Regions from separate parts of the Homo sapiens genome. Here region 1 is linked to region 2. The links are contacts of gene promoters, found by promoter capture Hi-C in blood cells and fetal thymus (Javierre and others, 2016). All regions are on one chromosome and are shown on one strand. Each heading gives the region's core, a stretch centred on a gene start or on the middle of the fragment in contact. The rest is flanking DNA. Distances are from core to core; before and after follow the strand shown. Region 1 has its middle 26 kb from the start of SPATA31F3. Region 2 holds the start of CCL19 (C-C motif chemokine ligand 19).

Region 1 (7,574 bases), core at 3,294-5,793, 180 kb before region 2:
AGAAATAATGCCGCATATCTACAACCATCTGATCTTTGACAAACCTGACAAAAACAAGAAATGGGGAAAGGATTCCCTATTTAATAGATGGTGCTGGGAAAACTGGCTAGCCATATGTAGAAAGCTGAAACTGGATCTCTTCCTTACACCTTATACAAAAATTAATTCAAGATGGATTAAAGACTTACATGTTAGACCTAAAACCATAAAAACCCTAGAAGAAAACCTAGGCAATACCATTCAGGACATAGGCATGGGCAAGGACTTCATGTCTAAAACACCAAAAGCAAAGGCAACAAAAGCCAAAATTGACAAATGGGATCTAATTAAACTAAAGAGCTTCTGCACAGCAAAAGAAACTACCATCAGAGTGAACAGGCAACCTACAGAATGGGAGAAAATTTTCACAACCTACTCATCTGACAAAGGGCTAATATCCAGAATCTACAATGAACTCAAACAAATTTACAAGAAAAAAACAAACAACCCCATCAAAAAGTGGGCAAAGGACATGAACAGACACTTCTCAAAAGAAGACATTTATGCAGCCAAAAAACACATGAAAAAATGCTCATCACTGGCCATCAGAGAAATGCAAATCAAAACCACAATGAGATACCATCTCACACCAGTTAGAATGGCAATCATTAAAAAGTCAGGAAACAACAGGTGCTGGAGAGGATGTGGAGAAATAGGAACACTTTTACACTGTTGGTGGGACTGTAAACTAGTTCAACCATTGTGGAAGTCAGTGTGGCGATTCCTCAGGGATCTAGAACTGGAAATACCATTTGAGCCAGCCATCCCATTACTGGGTATATACCCAAAGGATTATACATCATGCTGCTATAAAGACACATGCACACGTATGTTTATTGCGGCATTATTCACGATAGCAAAGACTTGGAACCAACCCAAATGTCCAACAATGATAGACTGGATTAAGAAAATGTGGCACATATACACCATGGAATACTATGCAGCCATAAAAAATGATGAGTTCATGTCCTTTGTAGGGACATGGGTGAAATTGGGAATCATCATTCTCAGTAAACTATCGCAAGAACAAAAAACCAGACACCGCATATTCTCACTCATAGGTGGGAACTGAACAATGAGATCACATGGACACAGGAAGGGGAATATCACACTCTGGGGACTGTTGTGGGGTGGGGGGAGGGGGGAGGGATAGCATTGGGAGATATACCTAATGCTAGATGAAGAGTTAGTGGGTGCAGCGCACCAGCATGGCACATGTATACATATGTAACTAACCTGCACAATGTGCACATGTACCCTAAAACTTAAAGTATAATAATAAAAAAATAAAAAATAAAAAAATAATAAAAATAAAAATAAATTGCTGTTTACATTGGCACTCAAAAGGAAAAAAGAAATACATAGGTATAAACCTAACAAACTATGTACCAGATCTTTATGAGGAAAACAAATAAATATATACATATGCAAAACCCTGATGAAAGATATCAAGGAAGAACTAAATAAATGGAAAGATATTCAACATTCATGAATAGGAAGACAATATTGTCAAGATCTCAGTTCTTCACAACTTGATCTACAGCTTTGATGCAATCCCAATAAAAATTCCAGCAGCTATTTTATGGATAATGACAAATTGCTTCTAAAGTTTAGATGGAGAGGTAAAAGACTATCTCAACATGGAAGGAGAAGACCAAGGTTGGAGGACTGATACTACTCAACTTCAAGACTTATTATAAAGCCACAGTAATCAAGACGGTGTGGTAGTGGTGAAGAACACATAAATCAATGGAACAGAATAGAGAGCCCAGAAACAGATCCACAGAAATATAACTGATCTTTGACAAAGGAGAAAATGGTGCTGGAACAACTGAACATCAATATGCAAAAATGAACCTAGACACAGACCTTACATCCTTTACAAAACTTAATTCAAAATGGATCATAGACCTAAACATAAAACAGAAACCTAAAAAACCCCAAAAGATAACATAGGAGAAAACCTAATGGACCTTGGGTATGATGATGACTTTTTAGGTATAACATCAAAGTCATGATCTGTGAAAGAAATAATTGATAAGCTGGACGTCATTAAAATGAAAAAAGTCTTCTCTCTGAAAGACAATGTCAAAAGAATGAGAAGACACACCACATACTGGAAGAAAATATTTGCAAAATACACATCTGGTAAAGGACTGCTATCCAAAGTATACAAAGCACTCTTAAAACTCGACAATAATAAAATAAGAACTGAATTTAAAAATGGGCAAAAGACTTGGACTCCTCACCAAAGAAGGTATACAGATGGCAAGTAAACATGTGAAAAGATGTTCCACACCATATGTCCTTAGGGAACTGCAAATTAAAACAACAAGACAAGATTACATAGCTATTAAAATGGCCAAAATCCAAAACATTGACAATAGCAAATGCTGGCAAGGATGTGGAAGCAACAGGCACTCTCGTTCATTGCTGGTAGGAAAATAGCACAAACACTTTGGAAAACAGGCTGGTAATTTCTTATAAACCTAAATATATTCTTGCCATATGATCCAGCAAGTGAGCTTCTTTGTATTTATCCAAATGAATTGAAAACTTATAGCCACACAAAAACCACATGGATGTTTATAACAGCTTTACTCATGATTTCCAAAACTTGGAAGCAACCAAGATGTCTTTCTATAGATGAATAAACTTTAGTATGTCCATACAATGCAATATTGCTCAGCATTAAAAAGAAACGAGGTATGAAGCCATGAAAAGACACGGAAGGTGGTCTTTGGGTTGATTCCATGTCTTTGCCATTGTGAATAGTGGTGTGCACCTGTGGTCCCAGTTACTTGGGAGGCTGAGCTGAGAGGATTGCTTGAGTCCAGGAGGTCAAGCCTGCAGTGAGACATGATTGTACCACTGCACTTTAGCCTGGGTGGATGAGACCCTGTCTCAAAAAAAAAGACATGGAAGAACCTTAAATACATACTGCTAAGTGAACGAAATCAATCTGAAAAGGCTACATACTGTATAATACCAATTATATGACATTCTGGAAAAGGGTAAAACTATGGAGACAGTAAAAGGGTAAGTAGTTGCCAAAGGTTACGGGGAGGGATGAATGAATAGGTAGAGCACAGAGAATTTTTTTTTCTGGGCAGTGAAACTATTCTACATGATACTAACAAGGGTCGATTCACACTTATCAAAATATATATATTTATACATTTATGCAGTATTACTATCCATTATATACTTATCAAAATCCATAGAATGCACACTTCCCCAAGAGTGAACTCTAATGTAAATGATGGACTTTGGGTGATAATGATGTGTCAATGTAGGTTCATCAGTGGAAACAAGTTTAGGACTGTAGTGCAGGATGTTGATAGTGGGGAAGGTTTTGCTGGGGTGGGGGCATATGCAAGCTTTTTGTACTTTCCACTTAATTTTACTGTGAACCTAAAACTGCTCTAAAAAATAAAGCTTATTAATTTAAAAAAACAACAAAAACAAATACCTGATGAGAAAGACTGGCCTCCATTGTGCTGGAGGAAGTTCTAAGAAAAAGAAATTGTAAAGAAATGAAATGACAAAGGTGCCACAAATTATGCCTAATGATTACTTTTTTGGTTGAAAACTGGGAATTTCTGCCTTCCTAACAAGGATGAAAAGTCAGATAATTTGTGGTGAGGACTCAAAAAGAACCTCAAAAAGTGGGATAAGAAGGTAGATTAGGGTCATCTGGCTATATAAACTAAAGAAAATGAAGGCAGATTATAGCCTGAATCTTTCCTTGGTACTATTGCAGCCAAAAACAAAACAAACAAAAAAACCTCTCTAGATGTATCTGTAAGGTAGTAAGATATATGCAGGCAGTGTGTATGTGTGTGTGTGTGTATACAAAACACACACATTTCTCTGCAGAGAACTTGCTTATTTGTAAGGGTAAAGTGGGAGGCAGGGGGAGCTGTTCTGCAGCAGGAGAAGGAGAAGACATTCATATGGCCAAGAAACATGAAAAAAAGCTCAACATCACTCATCACTAGAGAAACACAAATAAAAACTACAAGGAGATAACATCTCACGTCAGTCAGAATCACGATTATTAAAAAGTCAAGAAACAACAGATGCTGGCCAGGTTGTGGAGAAAAAGGAATGCTTTTACACTGTTGATGGGAGTGTAAATTAGTTCAACCATTATAGAAGACAGTGTGGTGACTCCTCAAAGATCTAGAAGCAGAAATACCATCTGATCCAGCAATCCCATTACTGGGTACATACCCAAAGGAATATAAATCATTCTATTATAAAGATACATGCATGCATATATTCATTGCAGCACTATTCAGAATACCAAAGACATGGAATCAACCCAAATGCCCATCAATGGTAGACTGGATAAAGAAAATTGTGCACATACATACCATGGAATACTATGCAACCATAAAAAGGAATGAGATTATGTCCTTGGCAGGGACATGGATGGAGCTGGAAGCCGTTATCCTCAGCAAACGAACGCAGGAACAGAAAACCAAACACTGCATGTTCTCACTTATAAGTGGGAGCTGAACGATAACACATGGACACATGGTGGGGAACAACACACACTGGGGCCTGTCATGCAGGGCTGGGAGAGGAAGAGCATCAGGAAGAATAGCTAATGGATGCTGGGCTTAATGACTAGGTGATGGGTTGATCTATACAGCAAACCACCATGGCACACATTTACCTATGTAACGAACCTGCACATGTACTCCAGAACTTAAAGTTGAAGGAAAAAAAAAGAGAAGGAAAAGAAGAAATAAGAAAGCATTTAGGGAACCTCCCTCCTTTACCTCTCTCTATAAGGATAAGTAGCTGTGAAAGTCTGATGAGCAGCCTCCTAATCAGTTGCAACCAGAGCTCTCTCATACTGCTATGTTAAATGCAAATATAAAAGATGAGCCTTTGCTTTCATTTGATTCTTGATATGGGGGTGACAACTTTTTGGAAGACTCAAAAGAATGACAGTGATTTCCTGTTAAAAGTGACAGAGCTTCATTAGGCAAAAACAAATAAAAGAAATCTCTGAAAGGGAGAATGGGTGGAAGCAACCACAGGGTGTTCAATAGGAAGAAAATGAAGCCCCAGTTTTTCATAGAGAACAGGACAGAGGAAAACGAATCGAGATAGTTCTCACTGCCTTCCACAGAGCATGTGTTCTATATACTTTGTTGAATGAATGTTACAAAGATGACTGGACAACATAAAATGTTTGAGATAATGGTGTCATGATTCTTTCTTTTTCTCAAATTGGGCCAGAAAGACTGATCAGACCAAATCTTCAAACTGAATTCCAGGAACTACAAAGTCTTCAGCTCATCACACCCACTCTGCTTCCCCAGAAGTAGAGCCTGAACTGTGAGTCAGGGCTAGCAAGGATGAGAACAGGTAACCCATATGCTAAGTATGGGTGATTTTTCTGATCACAGAGGAGAGCTACAAAATTTTGGAATTTAGCCAGTTTCCGCAACCACAATGATTAGAAAAGAGAGACCATCACTACCAAAATCAACAGTCCCCTGCATTTATGTTGTGTCCTTTAGACTTGTGGCGGGGCACAAGTAGGAAGCTTTGAAAATGCATATCCTCTGTCTTGGGTCTAAGCTGGAGAAATTTAGCAACAGTATCTACACTTACAGGTGAAAATTTTCAGAGTGGTTGACAATTGGTTCCTGAAAACATATGCCTGAAGAATTGTTTGAGAGCCTTATGAAAAGCCACATACCTAACATAGAAGTTGACCAGCCTCAAGGGTATGGAAAACCAACAGAACTAGGGTCTATAAAAAGTACAGAATGCATGGCACAAATCCTGAGCTCACTGTTCACATCAGCATCAACCCTGAGACTTTTAACAAAAACCATCAAAAGGAGTCCCTATCCTCTGCGGTCTTTAAGGGAATCCAAGCCCCAAGGGGTCTGATTGTTCTCCAGTGACTGGCTGTTCCTTAGGAAATCCAGTGCCTTACTACAGTGCTCTTGAAGCCTGTTCCTACTCAGCCATTCTGTCACTTGGCAGTAGCCTACAGGCTATTTTTAGTTTTCATGTTTGTAGACCCTGAAGGGGTCTACCTGGTACCTCCCCACCTCTCTCCATTACCTCTGTTTGTCCAAGAAAACAGTCACCTCAACTGCACAGGCTACACTCAGCAAATGTTTATAAAAGAAGCAAACAAGTGGATGGTGATTTACATGGGGTGTAATAATTGCATTAAATGGGAACTGAATCTGTTCATCAGGGACCTAGTGCAGAGAACAGGGAGTGCCTCTCCATTTTGCTGAAAAACTTTGCTTCCTAAGTGCAATCCCACTAGCCAATCACTGATGGTGTGATGTTCTTTAACTGTTGCTCTGCTTCTGTGGGAAGTCAGCACCGTGGCTTTAAATGAAGACTTCAGCCCAGACCCCCAGAGGCTGAAGATCATGCCATAATTTTATTCTCATGTATATTGAGATTTTCGAGCTTTCAGTAAATATTATACAGCAGCAGGACTTTCCTCATGCCTCATAGTCTAGAGCTGAGGCCAGGAGGATTTAGTTTCAGTACTTGAAAAACCCAAAATAGTTCTGTTAATTTAGGATGGCCATGCTTTCCTGAGATGACTGAGGCTAGTGCTGCTGTGCTGGATAAACATGGTGAATGGAGGGACAGTTGGTCTACAGAAATGGAAACTAAAAATAGCATGTAAGTTACTGCCAGGTGACTGGCTAGGCTGGCTATCAACAGGCTCCAAGAGCCCTGCAGTGAGGTACTGGATTTCTAAAGCAATAGCAAGTCCCTGGAAAATAGGCAGACCAGGGGGCTGGATTTCCTCAATGAGCAGGAGTATCATGAAGGAGGTAAAAGGACACTCTTTTTTATGGCTTTGGTTAGAGTCTTATTAGGGTTGATGCCACCTAGATGTGCACTGAGCTCAGGGTCAATGCTATGCATTCTGCATTTTTTTTATAGGCCCTGGTTCTGTTGGTTTTTCATAACCTTGTGGCTGGTCACCTTTTATGTAAGGTACGTGGCCTTCCCTGAGGTTCTCAGACAATCTTTCAGGAACATGCTTCCAGGAGTCAATTGCTGACCACCTTGAAAGGTGTTTCATGAGCTATATCTTGAAAGATGAGTAAGAGTTTCTGCAATAGATGAAGAAAAATTATTCCACGAGGAGGGAAAAAGCACACAGAAAGGCAGGCACACAGCTCTACAGGGACCCCACTGTGGCTTAAATGGTGTGAAACTTGCCTTAGTGCTGGGTAGAAACAGGCAAGGAACTCTGCTTTCACCTAAGAATTATCATTATTCCAAAGAGTTGGTGGGAAATAGTATGCTTAAAGTATTTGTTTAGCAGGAAATATATTTGGATTTCAGGAATTAAAAATAATCTGACCCAGAGAACTAGATATTCTGAGGACAGGGTGGCAGCCCCACCTCCTGATATTCATGACATTGTATAATTGCCTCACTTTAGCAGCTTGTCTTTGACCAATTGAATAGGGCAACACTGAGGTGTGTCATCTTCCATGAGTAAGTTACAAAAGATTATTACT
Region 2 (6,780 bases), core at 2,707-5,206:
AGGTATAATTGATTACATCATCAGCCATTGGTTTATCAACTCAAGTTTCAACCCCTCTTCCCCTACCCAGAGGTGGGGAGTGGGTGGGACTCCCCACCACTACAGAATGTTAGAGAATGTTCCAACTCTCTAACCATGTGGCTGGTTCTTCTGCTGACTAGCTCCCATCCAGAGGCTGTCTAGAGGCCCCCAGCCACCAGTTATCTCATTAGCATACAAAAGACACAATCTCTCCCAAGATTCCAAGGATTTTAGGAGCTATATGTCAGAAAAGGAAGATGAAGACCAGATATATATTTCACAATATCACATACACTCAAAAAAAATTTAACTGGAAAGATTTTAATAAAGGGACAATTTAAGAGATTAGGTCAGGATTAAGGAACTAACATGGGATGATAGGCAGTTGGGGTCTAGCAATGGTGAGAAACCATTATCATACAAAGGCTTGAAGGGGCAAGAGGAGGGAACAGTGTTTCCAAAGCCTGTCATCCCAGCACTTTGGGAGGCCGAGGCGGGTGGATCACCTGAGGTCAGGAATTTGAGACCAGACTGGCCAACATGGTGAAATCTCATCTGTATTAAAAGTACAAAAATTAGGCCGGGCATGGTGGCTCACGCCTGTAATCCCTGCACTTTGGGAGGCCAAAGCAGGTGGATCACCTGAGGTCAGGAGTTCAAGACCAGCCTGGCCAACATGATGAAACCCCATCTCTACTAAAAATACAAAAAACTTAGCTGGGTGTGGTGGCGGGTCCCTGTAATCCCAGCTACTCAGGAGGCTGAGGCAGCAGAATCGCTTGAACCCAGGAGGCGGAGGTTGCAGTGAGCTGAGATTGTGCCATTGCACTCCAGCCTGGGTGACAAGGGTGAAACTCCATCTCAAAAAAAAAAATTAGCCAAGCGTGGTGGTGCGTGCCTCTAATCCCAGCTACTCGGGTGGCTGAGGCAAGAGAATTACTTGAACATAGGAGGCAGAGGCTGCAGTTAGCTGAGACTGTGCCACTGCACTAGAGCCTGGGTGACATATTGAGACTCTGTATCAAAAAAAAAAAAAAAAAAAAAAAAAAAAGAATAGAGATAGACCCGTGGAAGGGAGGCAACCCAAAAGGATCACTGTAGATCAGTGGGCCTCAATCTGTAGACCACTTTGGGAGGCCAAGGTGAGCCTTGGGATTCTCCTGCCTCAGCCTCCTGAGTAGCTGAGTAGTCAGGAGTTGAGATGGGGTTTCACCATGTTGGCCAGGCTTGTCTCAAACTCCTGTTCTGGATAAACAAAACTTAGGAAGTTCATTAATAGTACATCTGCCCATAAGAAAAGCTAAAGGGAGAAAGAAAAAACAAAAAACAAACAAAGAAATGCTAAAGGGAGACCTTCAGAATGAAACAAAAGGACAAAAAGTAATAACTTACAGCCACACAAAGAAACAAAGATCTCTGATAAACATAACAACATAGCAGGCCAGGCGTAATGAACTTCTTGGATATGTATATACATACTTTTCATCAGATTTCAGATGTTTTGTCATTATTTCTTCAATTTTTTTAATGCCCTGTTCTCTCTATTCTCCTCCTGAGACTCCTGTGATGAGGTATATTTGATGGTATCCCTGAGGCTCGTTTGGATCTCAAACTTTAGCACATATCAGAGTCACTTGGAGGGTATGTGAAAATGCAGTTTGCTGGACCCCATCCTCAGAGTCTCAGATGTGGTAAGTGGGAAGTAAAATCTAAGAATTCGTGTTTCTAACAAGCTCCCAAGTGATGCTGCTGCTGCTGCCCAAAGGCTACTCTTTGAGAACAACTGCCACAGGGGAAATTATTCACTGCCAGAACTGCAGCAAGATGAAGGATTTGGGGAATTAATACCCCTCTCTCCTTCCACCACTGATCAGTTGCTGCTTCCCATGGGCCAGCCCCAAACAGAAGCCAGAAAGCAGGTGACCCTAAGTAATGCTATCTGCAGAGGTCAGCCTTCCAGGGAGCAGAGCAGGGCCGTGAAGAGTGGAGAATGGATAGGCTGGGGCAAACAGAATAACCAGAACCATCATGGACAGAAGAATGGATAGATCAATGGAAAGAGGGGTGGATGGATGAATTAATGAACAGATACCTGAATAAAAGGATAGAAGGCCAGGCACGGTGGCTCACGCCTGTAATCCCAACACTTTGGGAAGCGGAGGCAAGCAGATCATTTGAAGTCAGGAGTTCGAAACCAGGAGTTCGAAACCAGCCTAGCCAACAAGGTGAAACCTCACCTCTACTAAAAATACCAAATTTAGCCGGGCATGATGGTGGGTGCCTGTAATCCCAGCTACTCAGGAGGCTGAGGCAGGAGAATCCCTTGAGCCCAGGAGGTGGAGGTTGCTCTGAGCCAAGATCGTGCCATTGTACTCCAGCCTGGGTGACAGAGTGAGACTCTGTCTCAAAAAAAAAAAAAAAAAAAGGACAAAAGAAGAACAATGGCTAACAGAGCTTATTGTGCGTCAGCCTCTAAGCTAAGGGCTTTACTCAGGGTTCCTCACTTAATCCTAAGAAGTAGATCTTCTACCATTCCCATTTTACAAATAAGGACACTAAGACACAGAAACTGGAGAATTTTCACCTTGTCGCAGTTAGTAAGTGGTGGAATCTGAATCCCAAGCTAGGCGCTCTGTCTGCAGAGTCTCCCTCCTCTGCACCGTGACTACCCGTGCTGTGCCATGACCAAGTGGCAGACAGGCGGTGTGGAGTGGAGGTAAAGACTGCAAACCCTAGAGCACACCTGGGTCCAAATCATGCTCCAGTACTTACTAGCTGTGTGGCTTTGTGCTCTGAGCCTCATGTTCCTTATGTGTAAAATAAGAATAATAATGTGAAAATAAGAAAAACTACATCAATGGTATTGTTTTGGGAAAGTTAAGCAAGGTAATAGTGGTAAAGTCCTTGACATAGAGCCTAGCACATAGTAAACAATCAAAAATACCATTACTATTATTATGATTAATGAATGGAAAGAAGCTAAGTCAGAAATTTAAGAGGGAAATGTTCCCCCTCCCTCTCTCCATCCAAAAGAGGGTCTAGGGTTTGGGTGACGACGGGTGACTGGGCGTTTCACATTTAGTTTCTCTTTCAAGGCCTTCTCTTCTGACCTTTCTCATAAGGATGGGAAGTCACTTGTCCCCTCCCCCATCGGCCGATTCCTTGAAATTTTAAGATTTGTCTGAATATGAGCTGGCCAGCCCCTCTCCTTAGAAATCCCCTCTTGGTTCCCAGGACTGAGAAAAGGGGGAAAATGAAGGGGGCTATTCCAAGCCAGTCTCCCTCCAGCTGTTCCTTTGACCCAGGTGTTGGACATAGGAAAACAGTAAATAGAGGAAGGGGAGGGTTTGCTGAGCCCCAGAGGCCTGAGATGTGGGATGGGGGTCCTGGGCCTCCTCCCAAGGTACCTGGCCTTTCAGCTCTGCTTGCCCCAAGGGAAGGACTGGTTCCCACATAGTGGGCAGGCACAGTGATGACCTTGGAGGCCACCCCAGGATCTCATGGTTGTCCTGAGGGTGCCAGGGAGCCTTCTTCACCACCAGCCCAAGAAAGAAGCACCAGTGAGGACAAGGGATAAACCTAAGGAAGGGAGCACAGTTCCTCACTGTGGGCCCCACCTTTGACCATCACTTCTGAACCCCAGCTTCATGGTTGATGATGCAAATGCCATCAATGGGATGACAGGGCAATCCCTCTCTCTGGAGAAACAGTGCACAGCCCCCTTTACTGGGCCAGACTGCAGACTTAAGTTCTCAGAGCAGGAGCCAAGGAAAGCAGAAGGAAAGGGCAACCGCAGGGGGAAGAAGGGGGGCAGGGTGCGATTCTGCCAGAAAGAGGGGGGCAACAGGGGAATCACAGAATGGGACATGAAGGGGAATTTCAGGCAGAGAAAGTGAAGCTCTGGCCATAAATAGGAGTCAGCTGCAGGGCTCACATTCCCAGCCTCACATCACTCACACCTTGCATTTCACCCCTGCATCCCAGTCGCCCTGCAGCCTCACACAGATCCTGCACACACCCAGACAGCTGGCGCTCACACATTCACCGTTGGCCTGCCTCTGTTCACCCTCCATGGCCCTGCTACTGGCCCTCAGCCTGCTGGTTCTCTGGACTTCCCCAGGTAAGGCTGAAGGGAGAGTCAGGGTCAGAGGCAGTGGGGGGCTGGCAGTGGGTAATGTCTAGATCTCAGATTGCTTGGCACTGGACGTAAGGGACATGGTGAGTTCAGGCAAATGCTTAGGTCTGTATATTTCGGTGAGCCTGGCAGGTCCCTGCATGTGTGCCTGTAAGTGTGGGTGTCCCTGTGCCCCTGAATCCCAATGCGGGTGTGTCTTTTAGCACATCCTGGGGCCTATGGCTGTGACTGTCTCTGCAAGCTCTATTTCCTGCTGCCTCCGTTTCCCAGGCAGAAGGAGATTTGCTTAAGGTAGGGAGAATGGCAGACACTAAGCCAAGGCTGATATTCAAAAATTTTAGCAATTAATAAGGCTCCTAACACCAGCCTACCCTACCCCACGCCCCTCCCACACTGTGACCTGCATTAACTCTTTACTTGCTGGATTGTCCTGGGAGAGAGGTTGGGGTGATCAGGGCAGCAGGAAGTCATTTGTGGGGCTCAGGGCAGTGGTTATTTACAAAACAGTTTAGAAGTATGACAATATATTTAGCAACCAGTAGAGCCAGAGCCATATTGGTGCATAATGGCTGAATACCAGGTCTAACTCCTCCCCGACCCCACCAGACACACACACACACACACACACACACACACACACACACACACACAGGTGTCCTCAATCCGAGCTAGGGCCATGGCCATGCCACCCTCAAGGGTCCCTGTGTCCTGTCACCTTCTTTCCCCATCCCAGCCCCAACTCTGAGTGGCACCAATGATGCTGAAGACTGCTGCCTGTCTGTGACCCAGAAACCCATCCCTGGGTACATCGTGAGGAACTTCCACTACCTTCTCATCAAGGATGGCTGCAGGGTGCCTGCTGTAGTGTGAGTTGTGGGGAGGGTGTCTAGCCTCATCTCCCGTTTTAGCCCCTGTTGAGACTCCCACCTTCTTATTCCCCTTCTCCATGCCAAGCCCAACCCCTTCAAGGAAATCCCTGAAACAGGTTCCCAGACATGGTCCCCAGGCATGCTGGATTCTGGGGCTCCATTCTCTCCGGCCTCTCACCCCAGGTTCACCACACTGAGGGGCCGCCAGCTCTGTGCACCCCCAGACCAGCCCTGGGTAGAACGCATCATCCAGAGACTGCAGAGGACCTCAGCCAAGGCAAGCCTGGCCCTCCCTGGCCCTGTCTCCTCCCTCTGAGCTCCTGTCTAAGATTCCAGCCCATGATCCTTCCTCTCCTTCCTCCTCTAGATGAAGCGCCGCAGCAGTTAACCTATGACCGTGCAGAGGGAGCCCGGAGTCCGAGTCAAGCATTGTGAATTATTACCTAACCTGGGGAACCGAGGACCAGAAGGAAGGACCAGGCTTCCAGCTCCTCTGCACCAGACCTGACCAGCCAGGACAGGGCCTGGGGTGTGTGTGAGTGTGAGTGTGAGCGAGAGGGTGAGTGTGGTCAGAGTAAAGCTGCTCCACCCCCAGATTGCAATGCTACCAATAAAGCCGCCTGGTGTTTACAACTAATTGATCACAACCTGTTACAGATTTCTTTGTTCTTTCTCCACTCCTACTGCTTAACTAGCCTTAAAAAAAAAAAAAAAGGCACCTGGCACCCATAGATCTGTCTGCTGTCCGTTTGCTGTCTAGCCAGGTGGACAGGAATAGGAAGGGGGAGGTGGAATGGCAGGATCTATTTTCTCTTCTGTGGCCTAGGGGGTCTCCTTGCTCACCTCCACTTAACAACCTGATGCTCTCAGGATCAGCCTCATTGCTTTCCATAGTTCAGCGACACTAAGCTTGGGTCAGTTCCCTGAATGAGCCAGCGTCTCATGCCTCCCACTCTTTGCTCTCCAAGGCAGGTGTTCAAGCATCCAGGTGTCTAAGGAATCCAGTGTCACTGGGGGGAAGGGAGTTGTGGGGAACCAGCTCTCACGGCTGGGGGAGGTGGAGTGGGGCAAAGGGCCCAGCTCTACTGCCTGGGGGAAAATACCCATCCACCCATGCCCTTCCCTTGGTCTGGCACACTCTTCTCTCTCCTCTGCCCACCTGGCTTCCCATCTGGGTCCAGACGCCTCTTCCTCCAGGAAGCCTTCCCTGACCCCAGGCTGGGTTAGGTAGCCTCCTGCAGTGGCCCCTCACAGCATTCATCACCCTGACTTATAGTTGCTGGTTTGTCCAAATTTGTCCATGTTCTTGGACTGGGATCACATCTATTTTGGGTTCCACTGTTTTTGTGGTGTCCAGCATGCTGCTTGGCACAAGGCAGTCCCTCAATAAATATTTGTTTAGAGAATGAATAAATATGTGAGGAAAGGCTCAGCAGCCAGGGCTGAGGGTCCATCTGTTCATTCTGTCCATACAGAATCTGACCTCCAGGCCAGCCTTCCTCTCTCAGCCAAACTGAGCAAGGTCCAGCCCCATCTTTGCAATCCTGGGGCCATGCCTCTCAGGGACACCGACAGACAGACCTGGGAGTCAGAGGTCAGAGACAGGAGAGAGGCCCACGGGGTGGAAGAAGGAGTAGCCAGGGAAGCACAGGAGATTCCACATAGAGGAGCCCTACCACCACCCCTACAGTCTACATGGGCTCCAGGGCTCAAAGGCAACACTGAGACCAGAGACATCTCCCCAGATGAGACCAG

The links. The method cuts DNA at HindIII sites, captures the fragments that hold promoters and counts their contacts. A CHiCAGO score of 5 or more calls a contact.
Region 1: a contact is called between a fragment that was not itself captured here and the fragment with the promoter of CCL19 in region 2, in 1 of 17 cell types (endothelial precursors). The highest score is 5.1, in endothelial precursors.

Annotation. Positions count from the first base shown.
Region 1 is chr9:34,865,961-34,873,534 of GRCh38, reverse strand. It overlaps a transcript of PHF24 not described here. Among named protein-coding and RNA genes, the nearest start is that of SPATA31F3, 26 kb to the left of the region's middle. RefSeq lists an enhancer at 2,558-3,059. The HindIII fragment of the contact is 2,128 bases long and covers 3,480-5,607 here.
Region 2 is chr9:34,688,452-34,695,231 of GRCh38, reverse strand. It overlaps CCL19 (C-C motif chemokine ligand 19), which reads left to right and starts at 3,956. Exons shown (of 4, transcript NM_006274.3): 1 at 3,956-4,141; 2 at 4,890-5,022; 3 at 5,209-5,302; 4 at 5,393-5,662. The coding sequence starts at 4,093. The coding sequence ends at 5,413. It also overlaps a transcript of PHF24 not described here. The HindIII fragment of the contact is 13,722 bases long and covers 1-5,936 here.